2 separate regions of the Homo sapiens genome follow, and region 2 is linked to region 1. Evidence: promoter capture Hi-C in human tissues and cell types (Jung and others, 2019). All regions are on one chromosome and are shown on one strand. The core of a region is centred on a gene start or on the middle of the fragment in contact, and the rest is flanking DNA. Distances in the headings are between cores, read along the strand shown.

The links. Contacts are between HindIII fragments. The study calls those that stand out against the background at their distance.
Region 2: a fragment that was not itself captured here is called in contact with the fragment with the promoter of DYNC2LI1 in region 1 in 1 of the 25 tissues and cell types used here (liver).

What each region holds. Positions count from the first base shown.
Region 1 is chr2:43,771,318-43,778,217 of GRCh38, reverse strand. DYNC2LI1 (dynein cytoplasmic 2 light intermediate chain 1) reads right to left here and starts at 4,179. Exons shown (of 13, transcript NM_016008.4): 1 at 4,072-4,179; 2 at 1,319-1,436. The coding sequence starts at 4,079. LOC105374571 (a long non-coding RNA gene) reads right to left here and starts at 4,065. Exons shown (of 2, transcript XR_940033.2): 1 at 3,672-4,065; 2 at 3,226-3,345. It also overlaps the pseudogene RN7SKP66. RefSeq lists an enhancer at 4,244-4,293. The HindIII fragment of the contact is 10,095 bases long and covers 1-6,900 here.
Region 2 is chr2:43,707,463-43,714,441 of GRCh38, reverse strand. It overlaps PLEKHH2 (pleckstrin homology, MyTH4 and FERM domain containing H2), which reads right to left. Exons shown (of 30, transcript NM_172069.4): 11 at 6,897-6,979; 12 at 4,316-4,452; 13 at 4,112-4,222; 14 at 3,867-3,953; 15 at 2,059-2,217. Among named protein-coding and RNA genes, the nearest start is that of C1GALT1C1L, 35 kb to the right of the region's middle. The HindIII fragment of the contact is 5,564 bases long and covers 1,364-6,927 here.

The DNA.
Region 1 (6,900 bases), core at 2,930-5,429:
CACTCTAGCCTGGGCAACCAGAGCGAGACCCTGTCTCAAAAAAAGAAATAACATGCTTATAAAATATATACTTATATAGTTGGGTTAAAATTTTAAAATATAAATGATCTCTACGATAATTTTATTTTAAAGAATTAAGTTTGAATTTTAAAAAGTGGGCCAATATGAAAACTCTGGAAAATAAAAAAATTAAAAACAAAATAAAAACATTAAGTGATTAGAATTTTACTATCCATATTTCTAATTTTTATCAGAATTTTTTATTTACGTATTTGTATAATTGGGATCATGTCATGTATGACACTTGTGTCCTGCTTTTTTAATTCAGATTATATTCTTACATCACTAAAACCTTTTTCATGGTTGTACAGGTATTTCTCCCAATATATGTAATCTTAATGTTGTATATAAAACCCCCAATGGAGGGTGTCCGGTTGTGCAGAGAGGGCCTTCTGGGACTCATCTGGAGACAAGACGGGTGCTCAGGCTGCCTGGGCGCTGACGTTGCCCAGTGAACACGTAGCCCTGCTGATGCAGAGTGTAGTTTCTGAAAGCTTCGTATTTGTCAATGCGCTTAAGTGGAAGCATGGAGCACAGAAAGTGAACAGGAATTTGAACCCCACACAGAAATGAGCTATGGCACTACATGAATTTCAGCATCTTGCATCTGGCAAGCCTTGACCTTTTTGTGTCACCAGTCATTTTGCCTTCCTGGCAGGAACTTTGTGGGCCAGGCAAAGTTGCATGAAGATATGATGCATATGTTCCTACACTGTGTGGCCACTTCCACGCCTTTCTGTATGCTTGGCCAAGTAAAACAGAGACTTACAACAAGTGGGGAGGGGTCCCTTCCTACCAATCAGTGGTCCACTGGAAATGCTGCCATATTTTCCCCAGATATTTCAAAATAATTAATAACCCTGTAACAAATATCATTGACACAGTTCAATTATTCCTTTAATGAGATTTCTAAAAGTAAAGTAACAATCTAAAATATAAAATTGTTAAGATACTGACTTACTGATTTAGAGACTGACTTAGATATTTACATGAATCCTAGCTTTTACACTCAATTGTGGTAGAAGACCTGAATATTTTCAAATCATGAAATAAAAAATAGTTTAAATATATTTTTCTAAAATTTTGTTTACTATTATAGTTTTTCCTAGATTAATAATAAGCACTTTTTAATTCATGCTAAACCAGATTGGTCATCTGGTTAAAGTGTTGAAGTATCTACATTTTAATCAAAGTATTAACAGATATTTTACCAATGGTTGTTAAATCATCACAATAATTGAAAAAAAGAAAGCATTACCCCATTTTTACTGCCAATGAAGAAAACAAATTTTTCTGCAATTTCAGCTCCATCACCTTCACTTCCATTAATTCCCCTTTTTTCCACTTCAGCTTTTGCAATTTCCCAGAGAGTTTCACTACATGAGAGGCAGAAAAAACAAAATTGAGGGAAAAAGAATTCTTTCAAATATTTATTTCAAGCTCAGAGAAATTTTATTTCAGTATAATTTATGAAACAAATGAACATTATTTTCTGAGGAACAATAATCTGGTAAAACATCTGAGGATTAGTCATTCTATGATTTTATTTTTCTTTTGTTGCTTTGAACTAGTTCTCTGAAGAATACTGAAATTGATAAGCAGAGCCTTTATTGCCAGGATTTGAGGCTGTCACATTTGGGTCTTCCCCTACGGTTCATAGCTGTGTATGTCAGCTTCTCAGACACATATGGAGGTACAATGACTTTGGGAATGTACAACTTGAAAACCACAAACATTTAAGTCACCTAGGAAGATGGGAAAAGTACAAAACCAGTGTATCAAATAATCTTTCCTCCCTGAAACATTTCTTTTTTGTGTTTTAGATTATGTTTTTAGGTAAAAAAAAATTTTGTTTAATATAAAAGTATATGGGAGGCTGAGGCAGGAGGATCACTTGAGATCAGCCTAGGCAATACAGGAAGATCCCATCTCTACTACTGCTACTACTACTACTACTACTAATAAATTAGCATGGGGGAGGGATAGCATTAGGAGAAATACCTAATGTAAATGATGAATTAATGGGTGCAGCAAACCAACATGGCACATGTATACATATGTAACAAACCTGCACGTTGTGCACATGTATCCTAGAACTTAAAGTATAAAAAAAGAAGAAGAAGAAAAGAAAACAAACAAAAAAAATTGGCTGAGGCTGGGAGTGGTGGTTCACACCTGTAATCCCAGCACTTTAGGAGGCCAAGGTGGGTGGATCACTTGAGGTCAGGAGTTCAAGACCAGCCTGGCCAACATGGTAAAACCCCATCTCTACTAAAAAAAAAAAAAAAAAAAAAAAAAAAAAATTGGCCAGGTGTGGTGGCGGGTGTCTGTAACTCCAGCTACTCAGGAGGCTGAGGCATGAGAATCACCTGAACTCAGGAGGTGGATGTTGTATTGAGCCAAGATCGTGCCACTGCACTCCAGCCTGGGCAACAGAGCGAGACTCTGTCTAAAAAAAAAAAAAAGAAAATAAAAAAAGAAAAAGAAAAGAAATTAGCTGGGTGTGGTGACATGCACTCGTGGTCCCAGCTACTAGGGAGGCTGAGGCAGGAGGATTGCCTGAGCCCTGGAGGTCGAGGCTGCAGTAAGCATGTTGACATCACTGCACTCCAGCCTGGGTGACACAGCAAGACCTTGTCTCCCCCCGCCAAAAAAAAACCATAAAGAAAGAAAGAAAAAAAAACCCTAAAACCACAAACATTTTGAAAACAATCCTTTCATTGATTTCTTTACACAGATATATAACTTTACACGATAAAATCATATATATATTAATTAAAGCCTAAGTGAAAATGGAATATTAAACTAAAAACTAACCATGGGCAAGACCTGATAGGTCCTAGCCTGATTCTGCTACTTCCTATGTATGTGAACTTGGGAAAACTACCTAACCTCTTTAAATCCTTCATTCCTTTATTAATTAAACAAATATTTATTGAGCACCTAATATATGCAATCCTCTGTGCTATTCCCCAGGCTCAATTGTTTCTCTATCTCTAAAAAGCCAATAAAAAAGAGTATCAGCTTTATAGGATTGTCATAATTGTTAAAATATATATGTAGTTTAGGGCATGGCCTATACAATTACAAAAATTATTGAGGGCTTGTAATTATACTATTCAAGAACCAGGAATAAGAAAAAGGGTCAAAACAGGAGTCCTTAAATGTTTGCACTAAAATTCATGCATTTATTTCACAGGTGAGCCTTCAGAACTCAGTTTCGGGCTGTTTGCTCTTCATTTACACAACATTCTTTCAAAATATGAGGATCTGCTTTCCAAATACCTAGCAGAGAGGAAAGACGGAGGTGCTGCAGTCAGCCACGACACCTGCGGAAATCGGGAAGTATAACCATAGCTTTATAACTAACCAATTATCCCTTGATGGAAAGCTGACAATTCTCCACACTATCCCAAGGAGAGAAAAAGATTTATCCTGCTCTGTGATGCACTCCCTGACCCCTCTCCCCGACGTGCTTAAGCATAAATTGTTGAGAAAAGGTTTAGGAATATCTTGTGAACAGGTAATTAAAATGAATATCATAGAATTGAACAGCTAGAATATAGTTTACAAACCCTCTCCCGTTTCCCCCCTTAAAAGTGATGTTATACTTTCCACAGTGCCTTCCAAGTTTCCCCTCGCTTATTACTGCGAACCCCCGCACCAGGAGGGGAGGCCCCTGGGGAGAGGAGGCTTTGTGGTCTAGCTCATCGCCGAATGTCCTGCTCCGGAAGTAGTCTCTGGCCTGCAAGAAACTTTTATTCAATCATTGAATGGGTGGAGTTGCTGATCTTTCCAAATCTCTCACTTTTCTACCTAGGGAACTTTCTTTTCTTTCCTGTTTGCGGCAGAATCTTTATGCTCAAGGCTGATTCCTAGGTCCCCGACCCTGCATATCCTGGTGGCAAGTAGCCACCCCCACAATCTTCCAACAGCTGGTCCCGCCTGGGCTTCCTCTCTCCAGGAATACTCTCAGTAGCCTTTCCCACGCAAGCCGGGTTCAGGGAATACCTGGGCATCGTCGACGGCCTGGCTGCCGCAAACGTCACAGGCTCGGAGTAGTGACCAGCCTAGAATCAGGCGGCGAGCTCCGCAAGGAGTCTGGGAGTGAGGCCTTCTGGGTTGCCATGGGAGCGACGTCGCGGCCGCGGTTGCGTGGGGAGACGGGCATCATGGGAAATGTAGTTTTCAGGAGTCCTTTTACATCTCATTCTCGGCCTCAAGCCTTAGGATTGCTTTTAGATCCCAAGTTAGTAACTCCTTGTTACCTCCTAGAACGAGATGATAAGGGGTTACAAACCTGGGATCTAAAAGCAATTTTCTTTTATTTTAAAATTTTTTTACTGGGTGTCAACTATATGCCAAGGGTCTCTGCTCTCTCTCTCTCTCATCTTTCACTTTTTTCTTCCCAATCGCCATGATTTAGGAATAGAGGGTGTAACAATCTCTTGAGCTGTTTTCTGCTAATTTACTAGAAGCAAGGAATATTCGGACTTTAAAATTTAAAATAAGGCACGTAATTTTAATATTTTCCAACTTTCTAGATGTTTAGTTGTTTCAAGTTTTATTCAATAGCACATTGTGTATTTATTAATAAATTAATGAAGCAAGTGCATCTCCTACATACTTCATTTACTTTGTGAATGTAGATTATTTTCTTTTGGAACTTTGTGGTCTCTTTATAGATCTGCAGGAGTGTCCAAATAAATAACGAGCATTGAAATAAATAACAATCATTGAATATGCAAGGCCCTATGCTACACAGAATAAGGAATAAAGAGATGAGTAAGAAAAGATCGCTGCCCTTAAGAAAGACACACACTCAGCTAATTATAAGCACCTAAGGAAGTGAGTGATCTAAACTATTGTATAGAGGTACAAAAATTGCATGAGGGCAAGTGACCAATTATGCCTGAAGGAGATGGTGAAACCATGGCACTGATAGTATTTGGTCTGTATTGAATGCTGAGTAGACTCAGGCTTTCTAGCCTAAGATGCCCTGAATATTTGAAGGAGATACCCTCCCTCCAGTCCTCTACTATTCGGCTTGATTTCTATGGTGCGATGTTCAAGTACATGGGCTTTGGCGTGAGATGGACCTAGGTTCAAGTTCTGACTTGGCCACGCTGGCTAAGTTGTCACATTGCCACATCGGGTAAATCACTGAATTTCTGATCCTGTAAAGCGGGAAAGATTGTGAATCTTAAATGAGATAAATGTAGGTAAAACATAACTTACGTGGGTGTCTGACACATTATAACTGCTTAATGCTTGTTATTATTGTGTGATAAGCTGCTGGTCAGCAACTTCGAACAAAGAAACACAAGGAACACATTCCTGGAAACAAGGCTGATGGTTGATAAAAGGGTGTTTATTTCAAATAAAGTCATTGGGAACAAAATCCTCCCAACACCTAGGTATATTTTGGAGACGTAAAGAACACTAAGCTGCACATAGGAAGGGAATTAATGGGAGTAGAGCTCACCGAAGAAAGGATGATTTTTCAAAGGAGGCTTATACATCTGTCATTGAATCAACAGCTATAGCCTGGTGCTAAGCCAGACTTTAAGCTCACAAACTGATATGGGACAGATTGTAATGAATTGTAATGATTTGGGTTCTAGAACTTCAGAATACTTTTGCATGCTAGTTAGGAAGGCCTGTTGATATTGATAGCAATAACGACAGCTAACATTTTTGCCAAGTGCTTGCTATGTACTGGGCACAATACTCAGTACGAGTACTTCAAAAGTACACTTGTTTGAATAACGGGGAGAGGTGTTTGAAGGAGGGAGCTTGGTAACCAGGAAAGTGAAGGTGATCCGGCTGGGCCCTGATCAGCAGCATTGATTCAGGGTTGATTCAGTTGATCTGACTGAGCAGGTGAGTTCCCCTTTCTTCCCTCATTCCTCTTGAGGCCTTCATACTTGGGCAAAGAAAGTGACTTTCCTGGGTAGATGAAGATTGTTCTTAAGGTAAGAATGGAAGGAGAAGGAGACAATTTTATGCTGCTTTCTGGATGGAATGAGCAACAGTGCAGAAGGGTAAAGGCGTGTGCAGGATGTATTTGGGAAACTGAATAGTTTGGGTTGCGATCATATAAAGTGCCTGGTGGAGCTACAGTGGAAGAGCAAACTGGGCAGGTAGATGGGGCTACTGTGAAGGATGCTGTAGTCTAGACTTTACTGTGTTGGTTATGAGAAACCAAATAGGGTTTAAAAATAGGAGTGTGCCATGATTAGACATGAATTTCAGTGAGATAATTTTTTGCAGTTGTGTGAAGGGTGGTTTGGCATCTAGAAGACCATGCGGAGGCTATTAACAATAGCTAGGAAAGTGACAGGCAGAGTTTTAAAATTTTTTCCCTTGTTTTCAAAGTTATATAAGCTAATTGTAGGGGAAAAAACGTATGCACAGAAAATTAAGAGGGTAAAATAAGCATAAGCCAGAAGTAGTAACTATTAGGTATTTTGGAAATACATTTGATATGTTTCATTCTAATCTTTTTTCTTACAAAGTTGAGATTAATTGTAAAGTTAATTAATGTCCTGATTTTAACATGTATTTCCCCATATCAAATTTTAAAAATGCACCATATCAAATTTTAAAACTGCATCATAAACATAACTTTGATGGTTGCAGAATATTTCACTGCATAGATTTTTCGTAATGTACTTAAGCATTCTCCTAATGTTGAGTACATTTGGGGTGGTTCAGAGTGAACACCTAACATGAGCTGGGTTAATCACAGTCCTTCCCTGAAATTTTTCAAACTAGAATTGGGAAAAGTAAGTCACTCTACCTCTAGAGGAAATTAGCATATTTTATGCTAAATGAATT
Region 2 (6,979 bases), core at 2,896-5,395, 64 kb after region 1:
CTCATAAGGTTCTAAGGGTGAAAATATGGGGGTGGACAAGCACAAATGGCAGGAAGGAAACTTAATAAGCATCCTGGCTATAAACCCTAATGATTTAGTCATCTGAGAATCCCATCGACTCATACTCATTTAAAATGCAATTGTGAAATGGGAAGTGGAGAATCGCAGAAATGTTATAGGAGCAGAAACTGACATGCCTTGCTGATAAAGTAAAAACAAGCAAGCAAACAAAATCCTAATTGTGGGGGAAGTAATAAACCCTTAGCCATGGGATCATCTTAAACTCTCAGGGTTTGATATGCATATGAGGTCCTTGAAACAAGAGCATAGCTCATTATTATGAATTATAGTAAGAATGTGATTTAAAGTAGCAGTGTGTTCACTGGAAAAGTATTGTGCAAATATTTTGTTCCCTAACCCATCAGTAACTAAGAAAACATTTTCACAGTCGTATTTTAGAAAAAACATAGTACATAGTATATTTCTTTGTTTAATGCAATAGTGAATTAAGTTTTACCTTTGCTATAGTTGGTCAGTCTTTTTAAATATTATGGAATAACACCCACCTACATTCCCACATTAATAATAAGTATAAACTACACAGTAGCATAGTTACTTTCCATCTAATTTTCCACCTCTTACATAATCAGAGTACATGAATGAGGAGTGATTATGTGTGTATACATATTTTGTTGTATTTTTCAAAAAGTGACCAATAGGACTTTTTAAAACTTAAAAATAATATTAAGTCAATACTTACTCATTGTAAAAAAAAAAAAAACAGAATTAAGCAAAAATAAATAAAATCACAGAGATAACCAATATACTTTGGTATATTTCCCAGACATTTTTCTATAAATACTTACAACAAATAAGGTATAATAATGTAATACTGCACTCTACTTATTACCTAACAATACATCATATTTCTATAGCATTAGATATTCTTTTACAACATTTAAAAGGCTGCATAGTAAAGCATTATATGGTTGTACAAACATTTTTTAAAGCTATACCTTACCCTACATCTAATTTGATCCCAATTTTTCTTTATTATGAACCATGCTGTGCAAGGAATCTTTCTGGGGTAATGGAAATGTTCTGCATCTTGATAGAGTCAAAAGTAAATAGCTTTCAAAACTAGTCAAACTCTACACTTAAGATCTGTGCATTTCAGATATATTAATCATACCTCATTTTTTAAAATAGGAAAAAAAACATGCTGTGAGGAACATCTCATAATTAAATCTTTTGCAAATTAAGACCACTTCCTAAGGATAAATTTTTAAAACTGAGATTGCTGGATCAAAGGAGATATATATGCGTGTGTGTGTGTGTGTGTTGATTTGATATTGATTTGTTCACTCAAAATTATTGGCTAAGTTAACACTTCAGCCAAGATATTGCCAAACTGCCTTTTAGAGTAATGCTCTCACTAGCAGATTTCTTTTTTTTTCTACTGCCTATGTAATTGCAGAAACTAGCAGATTTTTTAATCTGTGTCAATACTAGGTTTCAAAATTTGTAAAAACGTCTTACTTTTCACCAGATTTTAAAAAGTGCCACCTCTTATTTCAATCTGTGCTTTTAAAAAAATTGAGTGACAGTAAAATGTTTTTCCATATGCTTATTGATCATTTGTATTCCTTCTAACCTCGATGATCTCTCTTTCCTGCCCATTGAGTCTTTTGTTCCTTTTCCCCCAATTGGTGTTCATTGTTTGCTTACTGATTAGAAAAAAACGTGTTAAATATTAATGATATTAACCAGTTTTCACATGTTTCAAATACCTCTTCAAAGTTTTTCAATCCTTCTTTTAAAAATTCTGCTCGTAGAATTTTTAATAGAGCCTTTACATTTTTACATATTATAGTCAAATTTGTCTTCTTTTCATCTTTATAGTTTTTGCCTTGGGCATCATACTTAAAAACACCCTTTCCTATCCCCAAGATCATATCAATATTCAATATATGTATATGCTCTGACATCCCATTTTCAGCGATCATGGGCTCATGCCCATAGCTGCCTGGGACATTGCTATGCACAGGAGGTTCCTACCTTAGTGAGCAATCCCTTCATGGTGGGTTTGCCCTCAGGCTGCAGGGAAAGTGGGTTGGCAGCTTGTACTCGAAGAACATTCTGTAACACTTTAATCCACTCTTCCAATATATTGGGAGAATCTGCAGTCAGATAGTATGTGTGTTTTTCAGTGGTCAACTAGAATGCAACGAGAAAGGTATAGGAAAGAAAACTGTGAAGATTTAGGATTGTTAGCATTTCCTTGTTCATTATTCAAACGTCATTACTTAACACAGAAGCAAACATGCTAAATCTCAAGTCCCAGTTTCTAAATAAATGACTCCATATCAGTTAGAATATTTTAACCACTTTGTGAGAATTACAGCAATTAAATTTTTGTGGAAATAACTTTGTTACTCCAGTTTACCTAATTTTGGGGTTATGATTTTATATCTTGTTTATTTGTCACATTTTCCCTTTCTTGCTTAAATGTGTTACAGGTTCCTACTTTTCTTTTTTTTTTTTTTTTGAGACAGAGTCTCTTTCTGTCGCCCAGGCTGGAGTGCAGTGGCGCCATCTTGGCTCACTGCAAGCTCCGCCTCCTGGGTTCACACCATTCTCCTGCCTCGGCCTCCCGAGCAGCTGGGACTTACAGGCACCTGCCACCATGCCCGGATAATTTTTTTTGAATTTTTAGTAGAGACGGGGTTTCACCGTGTTAGCCAGGATGGTCTCGATCTCCTGACCTCATGATCCGCCTGCCTCAGCCTCCTGAAGTGCTGAGATTACAGGCGTGAGCCACCGCGCCCGGCCAGGTTCCTACTTATTGAAATGAGGAGCAGAATGATTAAAGACTATAATAAAATAGCATAGTTTTAGCAACTAAAGAAGAGGTTTCTTAATACAAATGACAAAATCAACTATAAATAAAATAAGAAGATCTTGCATATAAGAAGATAAATTATTGGAACGAACATGTGATTAGATATTATGAACTCAGAATGTTCCAGTCTCAAATTAGCCACACTGCAAATTTTCCAAATTTCAGAAACTTACAAATGATTCTTAACTGCCATGCCCAAAGACAAAGCTTTCCTTGATTCTCCTTTCTAAATTTTTGAGAGGTTTTCAGGTACAAATCACTGGAAACATTGATAATGTACCTTTCTGGCAAAGTTGTCCTCCACCCTCCAAAGGAGCAATATAAGAAAATAATGGTTATTGAAGACATTTCAGAAATAAAGTGTCTGACTTTAAATTACATATACTAGAATATCTCAACAGCCTGTGTTTTAAATTTAACAGATTTCTGGCAAGACTGGCCTTATGTGTGAGTAAAATGGGCAGCAGCTGCCCCTACAGTGTGACTTGCTTGGCAGCACACTCCCTCTGCTCACCAATATATTTCCCACTTTGGTGTTATGGCATCTGAAGTTCATATAAGAACTGTCATTTTCAGATTCTATATTAAAATACAAACATTCCTGAATTTCACAGTACATTATATAACTAACATCTTATTGAGAATTCATTTACCAGATAACCCTTCCTTAAAATAGCTTCACAGTTGGACAGCTGAAAATACCTAGGAGATTAAATATGAGGAAAGAAGAGTATAAAGGAAGAAAGGTAAAGTGTGGTGGGAGTTACTCAACACACACCTAACTTACATTATAGTTTTAACCAAAAATTCGTGGAGTTTCACATACTTCCAAGGCATCAAACTAACCCCCCAAAGTGAATAAAGAAACACTGAATTATCCTATCTCCTTTCCATTAGGTTGGATAATTGAGAATTGAGTCTGGCATGATACAAAAAAAAAAAAAAAAAAAAAAAAGTTAAGTACCTGAACTGTTTGTTTGTTATCTCCTCTTAAAATACTACAGGATGCACTAAGTTCAATATGGCCCTGGGGTTTTCTAATTACATCACTCTGTATGAAACAGAAAAACAAATGGAAAGTGATTAACTTTAACAGTAATAATAAGGAATGCTTTGTATCATTACTTGCATTATGGGAAGGAAATCAATCAGGCGTCTGATTTATAGTTTGAGGAATTACGTTCTAAACAGAAAACACTTTCCACTCACCGGAGATTTGTAGTAAAGTAATTCACCACCTTTAAGAACAAACCACCGCCGCTTCCAAGACTTGACTTTACCACTCATTTTTAATAAATAACCAGATTTTTCCAGTGGTTCCTAATTTTTAAAAGATAGACAAAAGCATTTTCAGTTTCCTTTTGGAGGCTCAATCTGACTGACTGCTTTTTAAAAATCATATTCAATATTTACATTTTTCCCATTATCACTGGAAGATGAGCAAGTTTTTGGGAGCTTCTGCTCTGGCTGTGAGTACTCCGTGTCTGTGGAGTAAGCATCAGGAGGAATAGCATAATCACTTTCAGAAGCCACAGAGGAGAGAGACACACCTAAGAGAACAAAGAAAGAAATCAAGTCAGTATTTAATACTGGGGAGGGCCAAACACCAGCTCTGAGTGCTCCTACAGAATGCAATTATTCCTAAATCATAAGCCTCCCTAGACTAGATTTATTCTCATTCCTTTGGCCATAAATAACTTTTTTTGAGACAGAGTCTCGCTCTGTCACCAGGCTGGAGTGCACTGGCACAATCTCGGCTCACTGCAACCTCTGCCTCCTGGGTTCAAGCGATTCTCCCGCCTCAGCCTCCCGAGTAGCTGGGGCTACAGGTGTGCGCCACCACGCCCAGCTAATTTTTGTATCTTTAGTAGAGATGGGGTTTCATCATGTTGGCCAGGATGGTCTCGATCTCTTGACCTCGTGATCCGCCTGCCTTGGCCTCCCAACATGAAGAACTTTTAAAGCAGAAAACAGAACTAAGAGGTAGGGACTGTCATGTAAATCTCTAAGGAAGTGAAAGGAACAGGAATAATATTTTGGTATGATTACAATCACACAGCTATTTTACATATATAAAATATATGCAAGAGTCTACTCATGTATATTTTATTAAGAATTAAAAATATGTGTATTTACACATTGACATATAGGCAAACAAATGTTGAACCTTAATTTATCAAGATTTTCACAATCACATTTTAAATTTCTTAACTTCTGTAATCACTTTTAAAGTAACCTCACATTTTAAAAAAACACAATTCAGTAGTATTTTTTCATTCAAGTTCCATAAGCTACTAAGCAGTTTACAGATTTTAAAAATATTTCATAAAAGAGAAACAATAAGATTGAAAGATATAAACAAACTATTTCTTTCACTTGCCAGCAGCTATAACATAAAATTCAATGGAACATTTATACAATGATTCATTTGCCTTTACAGAAAACTACCTGGGAGTTGCAAGCCACATTTCATGAGTCACTACAATTGGAGATTTAGAATATATTAAATAAAATCAAGGACTTAGGTAATTATTTATAAAAGTATCCAGCAATTTTTAAAAATATGTATTAACATTTAAGGGACATATTAGAACAATGCCACTCTTGTGACACTGCTTTTTATTTGACTCAGACAAGTAACAGTTGCTATAATATCTTCATTTTTCATAGAATAAACAAAAATGTAGACCTATAGGGACCTCAGTGATTGTCATGGCTAAGGCCCAAGGAGACTAAGGCCCAGAGATTAAAGGATTTGTCCAAAGTCAAAGAGTTAGGCAGGGGCAATGTTGGAACACAAGTCTCAGGCTCCCAGGACCAGGGCCAGTGTGCCAGGCACTGTCCTAGATGCTAGGGATAGAGCAAACAACAAAAATATTGGCTCTCGTGGAACAAATTCTAGCGGAAGGAGACCACTGACAAACAGGCAGTAGGTGGTATGGAACAATAAAACATAGAGCAGACTAAAGGGAATAAAAAGAGCTGGCAACAGAAGAAAGACAAAGGGCTGCAATTTGAGTGGTGTGGTCAGGGTGGACCTCATTGAGAAAGCAGCGTTTGCTGATGGAGGTGAGGGAGTCAGCTATACGGACATCTAGGGGAAGAATACCAGCTGGAGGAAACAGCAGTGCCAAGGTCCTGAAATGCAAGCATGCCTGGCATGTCTCAGAACAGCAAGAGGGCCAGTGAGACTGGAGCTGAGTACAGAGAAGAAAGGAGATGAGGTCAAGTACGTGACCGAATCCTGGAACACCTTATAGCCGTTGTGAGGAGCCACTGCAGTGTTTCCAGCAAAAGTGTGTCATAACCTGATTCTGGCTGTAGCGGGGCAAGTTGAGAGCAAGAAGACCAGTGGAAGCTCAAAATATGAAACCAAGGAAGGCTGAGCAGCTCCAGTTGAAGCCGAGGGGATTGGAAGTATCCAGAGGTTCCATGGAACACAGTTTGAAAGCCAACAGACACACCATGCTGCATTAAGGGCTTTTTATAACATACAGATGTCATTTGGTGGAATTAGATCTCTCTGTAACCACTACCTACACACAGAATGTCTTCAAAATCCACTAAAAATCATAGACATATTCCAAGTAAATGTTGTTCTCCACTTTAACATCAGATTAATTGACAAATTTTAAGGTATATTTTCTGCCAGTTAGCAGTGTAACAACTTTAGCTGAAATAAGTCTATTTCACAAATGCCAAGAAAGAAACCTCATTTTGGCCAATTATCTCACTTCATTCCAACAATAAAGTGATCTCCCTCTCACAGACAATAAAAAGCTGAAAAAAAAAAACTATATAATTTGTCTGAAATCACAGAGAATTAAGAAGAGAATTAGGAATATAAACATATCAGTCATAGGCTAAAGTTCTTTTCACTAGGGTCTGAAGCAAGTTCTTGGATTTAAAAAATAATCCTGTAATGGAGATAAAATTCCCAATTAATATTCAGAATGATCTGGAGTTGCCTCATATGCCTGCGATTTTCCCTCACCTCGTTTCATGGCTCTGGGGCTGCCTGGCCCACTCCTACTGCGTGAGTCTGACTCTGACGTCCGGGAGCTGGATCTGGAGCTG